2 separate regions of the Homo sapiens genome follow, and region 1 is linked to region 2. The links are contacts of gene promoters, found by promoter capture Hi-C in blood cells and fetal thymus (Javierre and others, 2016). All regions are on one chromosome and are shown on one strand. The core of a region is centred on a gene start or on the middle of the fragment in contact, and the rest is flanking DNA. Distances in the headings are between cores, read along the strand shown. Region 1 overlaps PCYT1A (phosphate cytidylyltransferase 1A, choline). Region 2 holds the start of NCBP2-AS1 (NCBP2 antisense RNA 1).

The links. Contacts are between HindIII fragments. The CHiCAGO score rates a contact against its expected background, and 5 or more counts as called.
Region 1: a fragment that was not itself captured here is called in contact with the fragment with the promoter of NCBP2-AS1 in region 2 in 2 of 17 cell types (naive B cells and total B cells); the score reaches 5.6 in naive B cells.

Annotation. Positions count from the first base shown.
Region 1 is chr3:196,250,783-196,255,265 of GRCh38, forward strand. The region is part of intron 3 of PCYT1A (phosphate cytidylyltransferase 1A, choline); the gene reads right to left. Among named protein-coding and RNA genes, the nearest start is that of PCYT1A, 35 kb to the right of the region's middle. The HindIII fragment of the contact is 1,188 bases long and covers 689-1,876 here.
Region 2 is chr3:196,937,144-196,941,492 of GRCh38, forward strand. It overlaps NCBP2-AS1 (NCBP2 antisense RNA 1), which reads left to right and starts at 2,734. Exons shown (of 3, transcript NR_046630.1): 1 at 2,734-2,984; 2 at 3,831-3,999. It overlaps NCBP2 (nuclear cap binding protein subunit 2), which reads right to left. Exons shown (of 4, transcript NM_007362.5): 2 at 2,108-2,289; 3 at 367-505. The HindIII fragment of the contact is 10,665 bases long and covers 1-4,349 here.

The DNA of each region.
Region 1 (4,483 bases), core at 33-2,532, 690 kb before region 2:
ATACACTATGCTGAGGATCAGATACACTATGCTGAGGTTGAGGACCAGATACACTATGCTGAGGATCAGATACACCATGCTGAGGTTGAGGATCAGATACACTATGCTGAGGCTGAGGACCAGATACACCATGCTGAGGCTGAGGACCAGATACACTATGCTGAGGATCAGATACACTATGCTGAGGTTGAGGACCAGATACCCTATGCTGAGGCTGAGGACCAGATACACCATGCTGAGGCTGAGGACCAGATACACCATGCTGAGGCTGAGGACCAGATACACCATGCTGAGGCTGAGGACCAGATACACCATGCTGAGGCTGAGGATCAGATACACCATGCTGAGGCTGAGGACCAGATACACCATGCTGAGGCTGAGGATCACATACACCATGCTGAGGCTGAGGACCAGATACACCATGCTGAGGCTGAGGACCAGATACACCATGCTGAGGCTGAGGACCAGATACACCATGCTGAGGTTGAGGACCAGATACACCATGCTGAGGTTGAGGATCAGATACACTATGCTGAGGCTGAGGACCAGATACACTATGCTGAGGCTGAGGATCAGATACACCATGCTGAGGTTGAGGATCAGATACATCTCCTTCCTGTCTTCAGGGCAATGAATGAAGGAGAAGGAAAGTAGTTCTCAGGAGGTTTATGAATTTTTGTTTTCAAAAAGCTTTACTCATAAATAAGTAGATTTTAAACCAAGAAATCATACACTGCTGAAAGGAGTATCAGCAACTTTCAAGAAGGGCAATTAGGTCGTATCTATCAAAAGACAAACGACAAATGCTTATAGCTGTGGCCCAGCTTTTCTAATTCTGGGAATTATCTCACAGTAAATATAGATGTTATTCATTGCAGTACTGTTTATAATAGCAACAGTCAGGAAACGACCTACATTTCAACGGAAGATTGAATATAGCATAATACACCCACTAAAAGGTGGGAGGATATATAAACAATTTACTTAGATATTCACAGAAATGGGTAATATTGGTGGCCTGTTATAGGGATACCAGGTGGCTGTGAGACAGGTCTTGAGAGGGAGACATTTTACTTTATGCCCTTTTTGTATTTTATGGATATTAAACTGTGGGAATGTATTGATTTCACTTGATTTGATTTTTTGAGACAGGGTCTGGCTCTGTCACCCTGGCTGGAGTGCAGTGGCATGGTCTCAGATCACTGAAACCTCCACCTCCCAGGCTCAAATGATCCTCCCGCCTCAGCCTCCCGAGAAGCTGGGACTACAGCGCACACCACCACGCCCCGCTGACTACAGCGCACCCCGCCACGCCCCGCAGACTACAGCGCACCCCGCCACGCCCCACTGGCTACAGTGCACACCGCCACGCCCCACTGGCTACAGCGCACACCACTACGCTCAGCTGATTTTTGTATTTTTTGTACAGATGGGGTTTCACATGTTGCCCAAGCTAGTTGTATTTTTATTTATTTATTTATTTGAGATGGAGTCTTGCTCTGTTGCCCAGGCTGGAGTGTGGTGACATGATCTAGGCTCACTGCAACCTCTGCCTCCTGGGTTCAAGTGACTATCCTGCCTCAGCCTCCCAAGTCACTGGGATTACAGGCGAAAGCCACCAAGCCGGGATAATTTTTGTATTTTTATATTCGTATCCCATGTTGGCCAGGCTGGTCTCAATTTCCTGACCTCAAGTGATCTGCCCGCCTTGGCCTCCCGAAGTTCTGGGATTACGGGCGTGAGCCACCATGCCCAGCCCAGGCTGGTTGTATTGATTTTATAATACAGGAAATAAAAATTTTAAATTAAATATACCAATCCAATGAAAAACTAAGAATTAATTAATGGATTTAAGAGTCAGAAAGGTCATAGCTCAAGCTTTGACCAAGCTTTCCAACCAGCTTTCTTCCTCTGTAACCTTAACTTCCTTATGCCTCAGTTTTCTCATCTATGAGAGAAAGCAGGCTGGGTACAGTAGCTCACACCTGTAATTCCAGCACCTTGGGAGACCAAGGTAGGAGGACTGCTTGAGCCCAGGAGTCTGAGACCAGCCTGGGCAACACAGTGAAACCCTATCTCTATTAAAATTATTTTTTACTGCCAGCATGTGTCAACTAAAAAAAAAGAAGAAAAAAATATTTTTAAAAAGATAATTTTTAATAAGACAAAGCAAAATAAAACAAAATTTGAGCATATAATCCCCCTTCTATGTCCCAGAAATCACTGCATTGGCTCTATGCCTATTAAAAAATAATACATTAAAAAGATTTTTGGGCCGGGCACAGTGGCTCACGCCTGTAATCCCAGCACTTTGGGAGGCCAAGGCAGGTGGATCACCTGAGGTCAGCAGTTGAGGCCAGCCTGGCCAACATGGTGAAACCCTGTGTCTACTAAAAATACAAAAATTAGCTGGGTATGGTGGTGGGCGCCTGTAATCCCAGCTACTCGGGAGGCTGAGGCAGGAGAATCTCTTGAACCCAGGAGGCAGAGGTTGCAGTGAGCTGAGATCGCGCCACTGCACTCCAGCCTGCGAGACAGAGCAAGACTCTGTCTCAAAAAAAAAAAAAATTGAAGTATCCCAGAAGTCACGTCCATGAAGTAACTAACATAGTTCCATTTTCCCTAAACAAGTCCAGAGGGGCTATGATCTCACACTATTCGATCCTGAAACACAAGGGATAGAATATACAAATGAAGACTACTTTGTTGTTTCTTTGCTACTAGACAGCATACAGCAGGGAAATTTTGCTCAAGAAACACATTGCCTGGATGGTGGCAATAGCACAGAATGCTGTTGATCAAGTGGCTGCTTGCAGCACAGCTAATCATCCTATGTTAGGCCAAGTAGATCACTGAACCTTTTCTCAGACCAATCCCAGATGCGCCTCTTGCTCTCTCCAGTGCTTCCCCAGCCTACCAACATCTCAACTGGCCACCATTCCATCCCAAGTCTTTGGCAAACCCAGGCTGATATATTAACCAAACGGCCAGAAGGGGTCACTGTTGAACTAGTCTGGGAAGAAAGCTAGCGTTAGCCATTCTTTTACCAAGTGGCTATTGGCCAGGATAAACACACCCCTGATTTAATGTATGTTATAGTATATATAATCATATTTATATAAATTATATACTTTTAATATAATTTTTCCTGTTTCTATTATATAATGTACTATATAATACATATTTAATATCATTTATATATTATGCATATATTACATATGTATATATGTTATATAGATAGATAGATAGATTTTTTTTTTTTGAGACGGAGTCTCACTCTGTCGCCCAGGCTAGAGTGCAGTGACGTGACCTAGGCTCACTGCAACCTCTGCCTCCCAGGCTCAAGTGATTCTCCTGTCTCAGCCTCCTGAATAGCTGGGATTACAGGTGTGTGCCACCACGCCTGGCTAATTTTTTATATTTTTAGTAGAGACGGGGTTTCACCATGTTAGCCAGGATGGTCTCGATCTCCTGACCTTATGATCCACCCACCTCAGCTTTCCAAAGTGCTGGGATTACAGGTGTGAGTCACTGTACCTGGCCTATATATATATTTTTTTAATTTTTATTTATGTATTTATTTATTTTTTAAGATAGGGTCTCTGTCACCCAGGCTGAAGTGCAGTGGTGCAATCATGACTTGCCGTGGTCTAGACCTCCTGGGCTCAAACAATCCTCTCACCTCAGCCTCCTGAGTGGCTGGGACTATAGATGCACACCACCACACCTGGCTAATTATTAAAATTTTTGTAGAGATGGGATCTCACTGTATTGCCCAGGCTGGCCTTGAATTCCTAGCCTCAAGCAATCCTTCTGCCTTGGCCTCCCAAAGTGCTGGGATTATAGGCATGAGCCACCACACTCAACCTCTGTATATTATTAACAGCAACTCCCTTTCATGCTCAAAACCGTCCTGATTTGGATGATAAATTATATGGTTTATGTGGGTTATGAATTATACGCTGCACCACTGGTGACTAAGTAACCATATGTCCTCCTTTAGGCAGAAGAAACCTGGGTTTCAGTTAATGATCTCTTTTGATAGATTTACTCTCCCAAATACCTACCACCGAAACATTCTGTTCCTAACATTTCCATTGCCCTTCACACTCTCCCTTTTCCTTCCTTTCTCTGAGTTAAACATATTGCTGATTTTTTTCATCTCCCAAAAGATTCCTAGAGCTGACCTTCTTGTCTCTCAAATCATATTTGTTTTTCTCTAAGTAGAGAATCTTCTCCTAGATTATACAACCTCCCTCGTAAAAACCTGGGGAGCAGGAGGGAGGTGTTGAAACTTCACTAGAGCAGGTGCATTCTTTATTGCTTTATTCCTTGTCCTGCACTGGCATGAATGCAGTTACCTACTTGGTGATTTAACATAAAACAGTCAGACAAAATGAGATCTAAGAGAAAAACCAGAGTTCAAATTAAGCTGGCAAATTTATAGGCTAATTTGTGGCTGTTTGTTCCACCAAAAATACAA
Region 2 (4,349 bases), core at 1,484-3,983:
CACAAACATGTTAGACAAACAGTGAAACCTGTTCAGATGCCACAATGTGAACATTTCAAGCAGGACATATGCACTTCAGCTCACTTCAGTGCGTTTTGCTTTCATTTTAGATGTTCCTGCAGGTGGAAGATACCTAGCCCTAGCAGAAGTTCAAGAATGGTTGCTTGTTAGAAACGTACAGAACATACCATTTCACGGTTTAAAAAAAAAATTCACCCAAACCGTTGGGTGGTTTTCAGATCCACTTCAAGCCAAGGTTATAGACACAAAGTTATTTACAAAAGAGTAAATACAAATTGCCAAAACACCTGTCATTGTGACTGGAATCCCAGGCAATGGCTGAGCCCAGAGACCCTTCTTGCATACCTGGCCCCCAGATCGCCCACGGCCGTATTGCCTGCCCTCCTTAAAGCCTGCGTCCCAGTCTGTGCGAATGATTCGGTCATCCAGACGCGTCCCATTTATGTACCGCATGGCGTTTTCCGCATCTGCGCGTGAGTAATATCTTAAGTATTAAGGAACACTAGCATTTTTCCAAACATTTCTGGAAATAGGGGAACAACATGTAAATGAAGCTGAGTTGTTAAAAAGTACAAGAGCTAATCCAACCAGATGGAGTTCAAAGACAGTAATTCAGCTTGCCCAGGCCTGTTTGCGATTGGTTTGGAAGCACATAGAGTCAAATATGACACGTATCCATGGCTACACTGATCATATTTCTTGGACATTCCTGTTGATAATTTTTGGTCCCATCATCTCTGTATTTTGGTTTGCAAGTTTAGATCACTGTACACTTCTTATCCAAGAAACCAGTGCTGTATATTCAAGTTAGGTTCTGTACATTCCAAGGCACCCTAATCAAGAGAAGGTCACCGTGCACGTGGAATTGTGCTGCACTTCACTAAAGGAAAGACTCAAGCTGTCACCAAGGTAGCAGTTCCCAAACCTACTTCATCAGAGACCTCCCTTTAATTAAAGGGGAAGACATTTAATCTCAGACAAATAAAAATAAGACAACAGTGTTCTGAATAAACCATCTGGAGAAACTAGTATCTTTGATGTTAGCAAGCCAAAATAAAATCTCTTTTCATTCTAGCATTTGGGAAACCTGTGTATCCCCGAGGCAAGCCTGCAATCTGGGAGAGAAGCCCTGCCTGGGTCCAGTGAGTCAGCATTCTTTTCCTTAATTATGAGCAGAAATCCAGGGATCACCAGACACTTAAGGAAAAATTTCAACCGAAACAAACATAATTCAGGGCACAGGAAAAAATTCAAAAGATATATTAAATTGGGCCTGCAAAATTTCTCAGAATATTAAATTGAATGACCAAAACATACAGTAAAAAGAACATAGGATAAATCCAAGAGGTCCAATACTTAAAAGAGTCTGAGTAAGGGAATTAAATGATCAAAGTAAATAGTTTTGGTTTGTACCTATACAGTCAGGTTATATACATCTATATAATGAAATACTATACAGCTATTTACTTAAAAGTTTTTTTCTTTAAAGATGGGGTCTTAACCCGTCACCCCCGCTGGAACACAGTCACAACTCAGTGCAGCCTTGAAATCTTGGGCTCAACTGATCCTCCTGCCTCAGCTTCCTGAGCAGCTGGCACTACAAACACCAGCCACCATGCCCAGCTGTACAGCTATTTTAAAAAAAGACCTACATATGCTGAAATGGAACAATAAAAAATAAAAAAATGATTTTAAAAACAGCACATGAAATACACTACCGCACACCCACAGGGTTACTTCTTGAAAGACGCCCAAGAAACTGGTAACTGACTGCCTCTGGCAAAGGGCATTAGGGGTTTAGAACAGTACGAGATTTTTATATTTTCACTACATTCTTTGGAATTTTTTTTTTTTTACGTGAAGGGCAAACATTCTTGAAAAACTTTTTGTTAAAGAACCATAAAGCATGGATTTCAGAAGAGAATATAAATAGTATCAGCTTTACAGTATAAGGGCAGAGACACACTGGGTGGAAAGTAGGAGGGAGATGAAGGAAAACGTAGGGACGAGTGCAGGGACGCTTATGAGCTACCACTCTCAGCTCTACCCTGGTTCAGCAGCTACATTAGATCCATGGGAAGGATACTCCACAAAACAGAATCCACATGCTGTTTTCTTCATTTTATCCAGACCCATAATGATTTTCTTTATGTCACCACTTTTGCTGAAGAGTTCATAGATTTGTTCTTCAGTTGTGTAAAAAGAAAGATTTCCAACATATAACGTACAGCTTTTCTTCAGTAATTTTTCTTGTTCTTCATTGTCACCCTAGAATTTCAAATAGAGACAAAAGTTAAGCAACTTCAGAGCCTTGCTTAAATAGTATTTCTAAGTACGGTAGAGACATTCATTAATTCTGGTTTGGAAATCAACTTCTCTCATCCCAGCCTACCAGAAATCCCTTGCCCAAAAAGGGGGATGTCGACCTTCTGTGAAGCACTTATGCGAAGTCCAGACTCTTAGTAGAGACAGGGCTCAAAAGTTATACCACATACAACAAAGTCACTTCTACGCCCGACTGCCACGCAAGCGGCTTCCCTTTTCCCTGCACACACCATATCCTCAGCAGTGCATCCTTTAAACCCAAGTGTAGACTCTGGACCTTGACCCAATATATGACAAAGGGCCCTTTTATCCTTCGTAGTGAAAAATAAGTGGGTTTTCAGAGAGAGAGAGAGTTCCTCTTTAATAACCCCCTAGAGACTGTTGAAAGCCACAACCTTGATGCTTTACGTGCTCATAGATCTTTCTCTGAGTTTAGGGGAAAATGTAGTGATCACTAAAAACAAAACAGAGCTCACTTTCTTAATGGGCTTCCAAATTGGGATGACAGGATGAAGCCAGAGACTTAAGCATATAACTGGGCTTCATCCAACACACCTGACAGACAAAGCCCTGGGTCCAAAATGGCTCATCGGGGTCAGGCGCGGTGGCTCATGCCTGTAATCCCAGCACTTTGGGAGGCTGAGGCGAGTGGATCGCCTGAGGTCAAGAGTTTGAGACCAGCCTGGCTAACATAGTGAATGAAACCCTGTCTCTACTAAAAATACAAAAATTAGCTGGGCATGGTAGCAGCGGGCGCCTGTAATCCCAGCTACTCGGGAGGCTGAAGCAGGAGAATCGCTTGAACCTGGGAGGTGGAGGTTGCAGGGAGCTGAGATTGCACCACTGCACTTGAGCCTGGACAACAAGAGTGAAACTCTATCTCAAAAAAAAAAAGTCCACAGGACAATAGTCATTGTATGTTAAAAAGAGGTTTTCGGAACTTTGGAGTGAGACATTAGAGAAAGTAAATTCCTTTCATTTTACTGCTGTTACTGATTTGTGAACATGGAAAGGAGGCATCTTCTTTTTCTACTTTTCTCACACATGTAAGTAAGATCCAAATAAATAGCCTACAGTTTAAGATAACTGTGGTGTAAGTGCTTAAAGTATATTAATATGGATTCCATTCACAGAATGCTAGAAATTCCACATGACAGTATGGCATTAGCATCTAAAAAAAGCTACAGGTTTAGACTGAGGAGATGAATAATAGACAAAGTCAGAAGGTTCCAGTTTTCATCTCACAGGATGCTTTAAGTTCAAAATGGTCAGGATGTGGAACTGTCTAAAGTAGTAACTAAAAGTGGTAGAAGTGCAAATCATGCCTGGCACTTAGGCATCCCAGCACTTTGGGAAGCCCCAGGCAGGTGGATCGCTTGAGTCCCAGAGTTCGAGACTGGCCTGAGCAACACAGGGAGACCCTGTCTCTACAAAAAATTAGCTGGATGTGGTGGCGCGAGCCTGTGGTCCCAGCTTCTCAGGAGGCTGAGGTGGGTAGGATCACTTAGGCTCAGGAGGTTGAGGCTGCGTGAGCCGTGATTGCGCCACTGCACTTCAGCCTAGGCAATAAAGCGAGACTCTGTCTCAAAAAATAAAATACATTAACTGAATAAATTTTTTTTTTTTGAGAAGGAATATCGCTCTGTTGCCCAGGCTGGAGTGCAGTGGCGCGATCTCACAGCAACCTCCACCTCCCCGGTTCAAGCGATTCTCCTGCCTCAGCCTCCCGAATAGCTGGGATTACAAGCGCCTGCCACCACGCCCGCCTAATTTTTGTATTTTTAGTAAGACGGGGTTTCACCATCTTGGCCAGGCTAGTCTTGAACTCCTAACCTCGTGATCCACCCGCCTCAGCCTCCCAAAGTGCTGGGATTACAGGCGTGAGCCACCGTTCCCAGCCTTGACTAAATAAATCTAAGAGCTTCCCTAATTTAGCGTCAAACAAAATTTCCCTTTCCCTACTCTAGTAACACATTTCACACATTCTCCACACTTACCCTCTG